2 separate regions of the Homo sapiens genome follow, and region 2 is linked to region 1. The links are contacts of gene promoters, found by promoter capture Hi-C in blood cells and fetal thymus (Javierre and others, 2016). All regions are on one chromosome and are shown on one strand. The core of a region is centred on a gene start or on the middle of the fragment in contact, and the rest is flanking DNA. Distances in the headings are between cores, read along the strand shown.

What was found. The method cuts DNA at HindIII sites, captures the fragments that hold promoters and counts their contacts. A CHiCAGO score of 5 or more calls a contact.
Region 2: a fragment that was not itself captured here is called in contact with the fragment with the promoter of SCAT8 in region 1 in 3 of 17 cell types (monocytes, M1 macrophages and M0 macrophages); the score reaches 8.6 in monocytes.

Annotation. Positions count from the first base shown.
Region 1 is chr6:63,804,050-63,808,682 of GRCh38, forward strand. It overlaps SCAT8 (S-phase cancer associated transcript 8), which reads left to right and starts at 2,787. Exons shown (of 2, transcript NR_157848.1): 1 at 2,787-2,837. EYS (eyes shut homolog) reads right to left here. Exons shown (of 43, transcript NM_001142800.2): 37 at 2,141-2,323. The HindIII fragment of the contact is 5,141 bases long and covers 1-4,491 here.
Region 2 is chr6:63,594,696-63,599,328 of GRCh38, forward strand. No RefSeq gene overlaps it. Among named protein-coding and RNA genes, the nearest start is that of PTP4A1, 25 kb to the left of the region's middle. RefSeq lists enhancers at 3,747-3,906, 3,987-4,046. The HindIII fragment of the contact is 7,361 bases long and covers 1-4,633 here.

The DNA of each region.
Region 1 (4,633 bases), core at 1,537-4,036:
CTTGTTGCCCAGGCTGGAGTGCAACACTGCAATCTCGGCTCACTGCAACCTCCGCCTCCTGGGTTCAAGCGATTCTCATGCCTCAGCCTCCCAAGTAGCTAGGATTACAGGTGTGCACCACCATGCCTGGCTAATTTTGTATTTTTAGTAGAGACGGGGTTTCTCCATGTTGGTCAGGCTGCTCTCAAACTCCTGACCTCAGGTGATCCACCCACCTTGGCCTCCCAAAGTGCTGGGATTACAGGCGTGAGTCACCGCGCCTGGCCGAGTCCAACAATATTTTAAGAGCTTCCCATGTATTAAGTTCGTTATTCCTCACAACGCTGTAAGGAAATACACTGTTACTATACTCATTTGATAGGTTAGAAAATAGAGGCACAAAGACATTAAGTAACTTGACACATAATTTGCACATGGTGGAGACTGATTCATGTCTACATCACCAGTCTCTAGAGCCTGCTCCCTTGACCACTATGATAGCTATTTCCTGTCAAGGCTGAGGAAAAAGCATGCACCAAACCTCTGAGACAGGAAAGCACTTGGTGGTTAAGGCACTGGAAGAAGAGCTGTAGGAGAAAAGCACAGAGATAGTGAGAGTGGCCTGGTTGTGTTCAGAGATGCAGACTGGGATCTGATCCTGAAGGCCCTTTGAGAACATGATAAGGAGGTTTGGATTGCATTCTAAGTGCAGTAAAAAGCCACAGATGGGTTTTAAACAAGGTTCAGACATGATCTAATAAACCTTTTAAGAGGCTAACTCTTATTACAATGTGGATAATTAATTGCAGGCAGGAAATCAGTAGGGAGACCAGTCAGGAAGAGGTCATGAGGTTTCAGCATAGGGATGGGGAAGAGATTCAAACAAATTTTGGAGGTAGAATGAATAGTACTTTACATGATAGAGTACCCCATCCTAGCAGACATGGTGGGAGTCTGAAATACCACATTTCATTTGGGGTGTAGGCTCCTTTCAGACATATGCTGATACAGAAAAGAGTGTTTGGTATTAAGAGACAGTCACTGATTGAGTTGAAAAAAACAGAATATGTTATTTACCCTAGCACCGTAGAACCACTGACAGCTGAGAGAAAGGTCTTTTTCTGTTACAATATGTTGATCTCACAGATGAAAACACTGAACTCAGAGAAGTTAGGTGATTAATTGCTTAACTGTTGATTGCAGACTTAAAAGTAAAACATAGGTAATTTTCCTTGACTTAGCACATGCATAACTAGTTTCTACTTAAGAGAGACAAATGTAAGTTATAAGTTGATTTCCCACCAATTCCAGGGCACTAGAGTACTTTGTTACAGGCTGAGTACTTTCTTAATTTCTTGCTCCTTTAATTTAGAATGGTTTTCTTTGAGGGCAACAACCATTTCCATTTTATAACACATGGAAAAATGAGAATTTCCCTTCTCTCTTCAGACATGGAAACAGAAAGAAACAGAGGAAAGGACAAATCAATAAACTTACTTCCCATGTGACTTGGTCACCTTCCCTGTCCTCATGTTTGCCTGTAGGAATTTTTTCTTTTGATTATGAAAGGTAGCTGATATGGTTAGGTTTTGTGTTCCCACGCAAACCTCATCTTGAATTGTAATCCCCATAATCCCCAGGTGTCAAGGGAGAGACCAGGTGGAGGTAATTAAATCATGGGGGTGGTTTTCCTCATGCGTTCTCGTGATAGTGAGTGAGTTCTCAGGAGATCTGATGGTTTTATAAGGAGAAATTCTCCCCTTTACTAGGCACGTCTTCCTGCTGCCTTGTGAAGAAAGTACTCTGCTTCCTCTTCCCCTTCCACCATGCTTGTAAATTTCCGGAGGCCTCCCCAGCCATGCTGAACAGTGAGTCAATTAAACTTCTTTCCTTTGTAAATTACCCAGTCTCTGGCAGTTCTTTACAGCAGCATGAAAACTGACTAATACAGTAGCCCTGATGCAAAGTAGAGCTTCAGAAAGGATCAGGGAACTGCTAAGTACTTTGGACTACAGCGAACATGCTCAAGGCAGAAAACAGGAGGAGGCTGCATCTAGGCAAAGGTCTTTTTTTTACCACAGCCAATTAGAGTGTCCCTGAGGAATCTCTAAAGTATTCTTAAAGGAGCGAGGCAAGTCCTAGAGGGTTCAGTTAATCTTACCATGGCCTTTCTGTCCAGTAAAAAATATCAAGTTATTTTGCAGTGCTGAGTGGTTGTTTGCCAGCTGAAACTTCAGGTGGAATTCATAATGGAAGCTGATGTCTGAGATCCGTGAATAAGCCAGGAATGAGGTGTATCCAAAGGCATCTGTGCCACTGAACCTTGGCTGAGTAATATTAATAGCTGTGAAAAAACCCAAACCAAACAGTTAAAATAAACCTGTACATGTATTTGTAAAGTGAGGGTTACGTTTTGCTGATGCATCTGGCCAGATAGTCTGTTTACTATTACATTAATTATACTTTAGTGCCCTTCAGCATTGAGCAACTAAGTGACTCAACAGGAAATTTCAAAACCAGAACAAAGGAAATGCAGTGTTTTGAGATCTTCTATATAATCCTTTCACTAGCATACTCTTTCTACATAATGGATAATTTACTTAAAAAGCAAACCCCTATATTTTGAAACTTAATTTTAGAAATAGAAAAGATTACTGGCAGCCAAACAAAGTATTTACTCAGGTGCCTCGTAAACATGATTTGGCATCCAAAACCTGGATATGACTTAGAGAGGAGCTCACACCTTTGAACAAACTGTGCTTTTCTAATCCTGCACCTTTATCTGAGCCAAAGCCCCAGGTCAGGGCTAGGAAAGTCAAGAAATAGGAAGGAAATCGGTCAGTTTTCTATCATCATTGGTGAGTGACCAGAGCTTTTCTTTAAGTAAAAATAATTGTCTAAAAGAAATGTTCATTATTTCTTTGCTGAGATGCTTCTTAAGTAATAAAAACATGGAATTCAATTGGTGTGAAAGTGTAGGGAGATTTATTAAAAACAGGAAATGGTAAAATTAGATGAAGTTCAAGGGCCAGTGTGAACAAAATAGAATTTAACTGAGGGTTGCTTCTTGTATCGAACTCTTCTCTTTCATTGTACTGTTTCCTTCATAAGTCTCCACTGGTTTTTTAAATCTCCTTACCCAAAGAGGACAACAGAAAATAGAAAGGGGATTTTGACACCCCATTCCTGTCTTTTATGGATGATGTCACCAGATTAAGGGATGTTCCTAGGATCTATTTTTATTGGTTGGGGACAGCTCGGTTGAGGAAATAAGAGCTTATGTTGTTTCCTTCTCAAGAGATGTTGGAACTCCAGGGAAGCTGTAAAATTAGAATTTTTACAAGCCTTAAGAAATATACTCACTCTGGTATGTAACACTTAAAAGAGCTTCTTATGTCTGTTTATAATTGTGTATACAGCAAATAATTTAGGAAAAATGATGCTTATTATCAAAGGCTTGTATATCTTTGTTTTATATGACTATTAAACTAAGATATTTGTGTGAATAAACTGAATACTTTGTTTTGATATTTTATTAAAATCTTATCAGTTTATTATGACTATTAAACTAAGATATTTGTGTGAAGCTGAATACTTTGTTTTGATATTTTATTAAAATCTTATCAGTTTATTCCCTGGGATGTGTGGCATAGGTTAAATGTAATTTTCTCAAAACTCACCAGAATGTGAAGTAGGGACTTTTGAGACATATTGCTTCTTATACTTATTTTTTAATCTAATGAAAACTTTATAATTTGTGTCCCTGAGATAATAACACTCTCAGGTATATCACTTTCAGTAGTACTATGGGGAGGGTGATTGAGGGAAATGAAATGTACTGGAGTTGAAACAGAATAAAAATACTGACCATCATTCAATGTTGGCATTAAAAACTATGAAAATAGAATTCAGTTAAATTTAATACTAAAATAGAAAAGGAATGACTATCTTTTGCTTTTAATATTTCTTCCTGTTAATAATTTACAACTGAGTCTACCTAAAGGTTACATTTAGGCTAGATTGACAAATACGTATCTCATATATATGGTATTTTACTGTCAGAACCTGTGCTAGATGCTGGTGACACAAAGATAAAAAAGCACTAGTCACTCAAGGGATTAGTGTGAAGTCAATACATTTATTCAGCTGAACTGGACTGAAAGTTGAGGCCTGGTATAAGAACTTTCAGGCAGAAGAAACAGCATGTTCTAGGGTGTGAAGACCAAAACAGCATGTCATACTCAGGGAACTTATGAAGTCTGCAAATTTTAGAATGAAGAAGAAAAGTGAGAGTGGAAGGAAATGAAACAAGATAGACAGTGGTCAAATCATGAAGAACTATATATTTTCTTTATTATCCTAAAGTAGTTGGGCAATGATCAAAGTTGCTTTTTAGAAATATTATTCTGTTGATGAAGTGTGAATCATAGATTAGACAGAGAGCTGGAGGACCAAACTTTGGTCAAGGATGAAAATAAGAACTTTGATATCAAGAAATCTAACAATGAATTAAGCTTATGCAGAAATCTAAATGTAAGGCAATTTATGAGTAACTCATTAAGGCAATGGTGTGATATTTAAACAGCTAATGGAAATACATTATCAGTGCAATTTCATGATATAATTTTTACTATCAAAAATAAGTACTTTTGAA
Region 2 (4,633 bases), core at 693-3,192, 210 kb before region 1:
GGCAGCTTCTTCAAGTTGGCACCATGTGTTTTTGATATGATCCCAGTAGAATTGATCATTTCTTTGCTTTTTATTATGACATGATGATTTAGCCTCATCATATACTTATTCTGGTCCATATCTAGAATCAGTCATTCCTCCAAGAAGCATCAATTCCATTTATTTGGAAATGGTATTTATAACACAGTCTGCGTAATACATGTTATTTTTACTGGGTTGGTCATTATCTCCAGGTCTTTTCAGTGGACAAAGGTAAAAAAAATACTTTTAAAAAAGAAGCATAACCACAAAAAAGAATGAAATCATATCCTTTGCAGCAATGTGGGTGGAGCTGGAGGTCATTATCATAAGTGAACTAACTCAGAAACAGAAAACCAAACACTACATGTTCTCACATATAAGTAGGAGTTAAACAATGGGTACATATGGACATAAAGATGAAAATTATAGACACTGAGGACTCCAGAAGAGGGGAGGGTGGGAAGGGAGCAAGGGCCGAAAAATTACCTTTTGGGTACAATGTTCACTATTTGGGTAATGGGTAAACTAGAAGCCCAATATCCACCAATATACCCACATAGCAAGCATGCACCATATCCTCTGAATCTAAAATACAATTTTTTTTTTTGAGACAGAGTTTTGCTCTTGTTGCCGAGGCTGGAGTGCAATGGCGTGATCTTGGCTCACTGCAACTTCAGCCTCCCGGGTTCAAGCAATTCTCTGCTTCAGCCTACCGAGTAGCTGGGATTACAGGCATGCACCACCACGCCTGCCTAATGTTTTTGTTTTTTTAGTAGAGGCAGGATTTCGCCATGTTGGTCAGGCTGGTCTTGAACTCCTGACCTCAGGTGATCCACCTGCCTCGGCCTCCCAAAGTTCTGGGATTACAGGCATGAGCCACCTCGCTCGGCCAATAAAATACAATTTTAAAAAAGAAAACTACATTTTGTATGACTTTATCTATATGAAATGTCCAGAACAGACAAATCTATGGACACAAAAAGTAGATGGTGTTTGCCTAGGAATGGTGAAAGTGAAGGAACATGGAAGAGGGCGGCCGTGATGGCTAAGAGATGCAGAATTTCTTTTCGGGGTGATGAAAATATTCTAATATTGATTGTGGTGGTGGTTACACAACTTTGTGAATATTGTGGGAGACATTGAGTTGTACACTGTAAATGGACGAACCATACAGTATGTGAATTATACCTCAGTAAAGTTGTTTTAAAAATTCCAATGGCAGAATCAAGATAATTTTTTAAATTATCTATTTTGGATGTACATACTCCACATGATCTGAATATTTCTATGCTTTTGCAATAATTTTAAATGAAAGGAGAATGAAGGAAATGCCTAACTTTTCAAATAGTTTGTAAATTAATCTAACACATTTGCATTTTAGAGAACATCATAATGACTTTTCTATACAAGTTAATCTGAAATTCATGAAATAGACACAAATTCTGTATCCATGCACAAAAGTGAAGATAAGAAATAAGACAATTTTCAGGAACATTCCCTTAAACATTCTCCTCTGATTTAACCTGGCTTGCCTTACCATGGCAATAGAGAAATCACTAAAACATGCTGTTTAACAGGAAAAAAGTCTCTCAATTTCTGTGAGGAGTGATGTATGATTCTGATCTCTCCTAAGGGTAAATATTATAATATTATATCAAAAAATTATGTAATTATAAGCAAAAGTGGCAGAAAGAAAGTCAGAGTTTAAGAAGTAAGTGCATTATACTGGCCAGGCATGGTGGCTCACTCCCGTAATCCCAGCACTTTGGGAGGCTGATGTAGGCAGATGGCTTGAGACCAGGAGTTCAAGACCAGCCTGGGCAACATGGCAAAACCCCTCTCTACAAAAAATACAAAACTTAGATGGGCATGGTGGTCTGTGCCTATAGTCCCAGCTATTATGGAGGCTAAAGTGGGAGGACAGCTTGAGCCTGGGAGGCAGAAGTTGCAGTGAGCCAAGATTGCAACACTGTACTCCAGGCTGGGCGATAGAGGGAGATCCAGTCTCAAAAAATAAGTGGAAAAAAATAAGTGCACTATAAAGATAATTAAACTGTAGTATAAAATAAACTATACTGAGACTGGGTGCTGTGGCTCATGCCTGTAATCCCAACAATTTGGGAGGTCAAGGCAGGCAGATCACTTGAGGTCAGGAGTTCGAGACCAGCCTGGCCAACATGATAAAACCCCATCTCTACTAAAAATACAAAAATTAGCTGAGCATGGTGATGTGCAACTGTAATCCCAGCTACTCAGAGAGCTGAGCCTTGAGAATCGCTTGAACACAGGAGGGGGTGGTTGCAGTGAGCTGAGATCCTTGCCACTGCACTCCAGCCTGGGTGACAAAGTGAGACCCTCTCTCACAAAAAAAAAAAAAATTAATTATAATGAAAATACAAAAAAAAAATAATGTTACAATATCATACTGATACTTCCAACTCAAATTCAGAACTACAGGGATTTTTTTAAAGATTTTAATTGTTTTTAATTGACAATTATATATATTTGTGGGGTACAATGTGATGTTTTGATATATCTACGTATTGTAAAATGATTAAATTAAGCTAATTAAATCCATCACCTCACATACTTACCATTTTTTGTGGTATATTTAAAATTTGCCCTGTTAGCAATTTTGAAAGATACATTATTAACTATAGTCACCATGCTGTGCGATATATCTCAAAAACATGTTTTCTAACTGAAACTTTGTACCCTTTGACCATCTCTCCATGTTCCCACCCCCATAATTAATTATATTAATCATGCAATTAATTATATAATTAATTATATTAATCATGCAATTAATTATATAATTAATTATATTAATCATGCAATTAATTATATAAGTAATTAAATAAGGCTAATTCATTAGGTGCCCCACAAAGGAATAGTTATTTCTTGAGCTCTGTGCCACGTGGTTTAGTAGCTCATTCAGAATGGCTTTACTTCCAGTAACTAAGGAATAGAGAATAGCTGTTGTATTATTATTCCTAGATTTAGTCAAATAACTTGTTTAAACTCTGGTAACTCTTAGTGATGTTAGATGATGAAAATCAAGTGGGAAATTTAGTCATATTTCCATCTATTCCATCGGTCATGCTTGAATGAGATAATTTGGATGAATAAATCTTGATTGCCAATCCCTCAGCATTTCTACCTTCTTCCTTATACAGAACACTGATTTGCTCAGGCACTGTGAAATATTAAGAGAATGAATCATGTTTGATCCAAGCAGTGGTTCTCAACCCTGGCTGCACATTATAATCTCTGCGAAAGCATTTTACAAATATTGAGCCACAGCACCACCCCAAAACAATTCGATCAGAATCGTTGCAAGTTGGGTGCGGGTGCAAATACGTTTTAAAATGTTCCCTGTTGTGCAGCCAAGGACAGGACCACAAGTCTGAGCCAATCATGGCAATTTAGCTCCTTTATCAGTGACCAGGGGAAGATGCCTGATCTGACCTAGGAGACTTAGAGGGGAATTCTGTTAGAGGCTTCTGGTAAAAACAACATTCTTTCCTGAAACAAGAGAAGATTGTATGGAGAAAGACTTGTAAGTACCCGTGCGCTTGCTTGCTGCTTGGAGCAACGTCAGGTGAGTAGGGAACGCTCGGTTGTGGTGGCCATTTGCAACTATCAGGGAAGACACCTGAAGCAATAAAGACAGCCGAGCACGAAGATCGAAGAGTTCCAAGAGACACTGTAATGATAATGAGAATAACTAATTTACTATAGGAATTAGGACTTACACGAATATGAAAAGAGTTGCAAAAGTGAAGGTCTGGAAGGGAGAGTCAGAGAATCAGAGAAATAGGCTGAAGAGTCCACTGAAGCACTGATGTGAGTAACAAACTGCAGCTGGCCGAGAAATCCAGGAAATCAAGCGTGACCAGTTGCCAAAGTGGGACTGCAAAGAGCGTATTCATGGAGGGTCTCGAAATTGCCATCTCTGGGGAAAGGTTCGTCTTTGTGTAGCTATCGCCTACACCCTGGGTCAGGGGCTGTTATTGATCAGCCGAACCAGCAGGTGGCAAGAGAGGCAAGACACAGAATGGAGAACAGCAGGACAAGCTGGGACTCGCAGCATCTGTCTCTACCTGTCGCCCGGTTTCACAGCAATGACCTTTTGAGCACAGTCGCTTCAGTTTCATTCACTTTTCAAATCTCATACACATTCCTCTTTTGTTCAATTCTAACCTAGAACCATATAGGGAAGAGGATTCTGGGAAATGTAGTTCCCATCCTTAGCCAAGAAATGGGATAAACAAGCAAGTTATAATCCTTATGGAAAGTCTAAATTTCGTGGTTAAAAATCATCAATAAAGTCAAGTTTGAGATAATACCAGCTGAGTACTTCTCAGAACCTTGCCGTCTCCATTATTTATAAATGCAAATCAATTTCTTTACATTTGTAGGCCCATGCTTCTTTTTAAGTTCTGGTACTTCCCTCTTACAGAGATAAATTGGTAATAAGCACACACTATCGACAAAGAGTAAAGGTTAGGGACAAAAATTCAAAGGCTAAGAAGGATTTAAAAAATTAAAATTTGAAGAAGCAGATTGATGTTAAAAATAAAGATTGATGGGAATTAAAACATTCAATAGA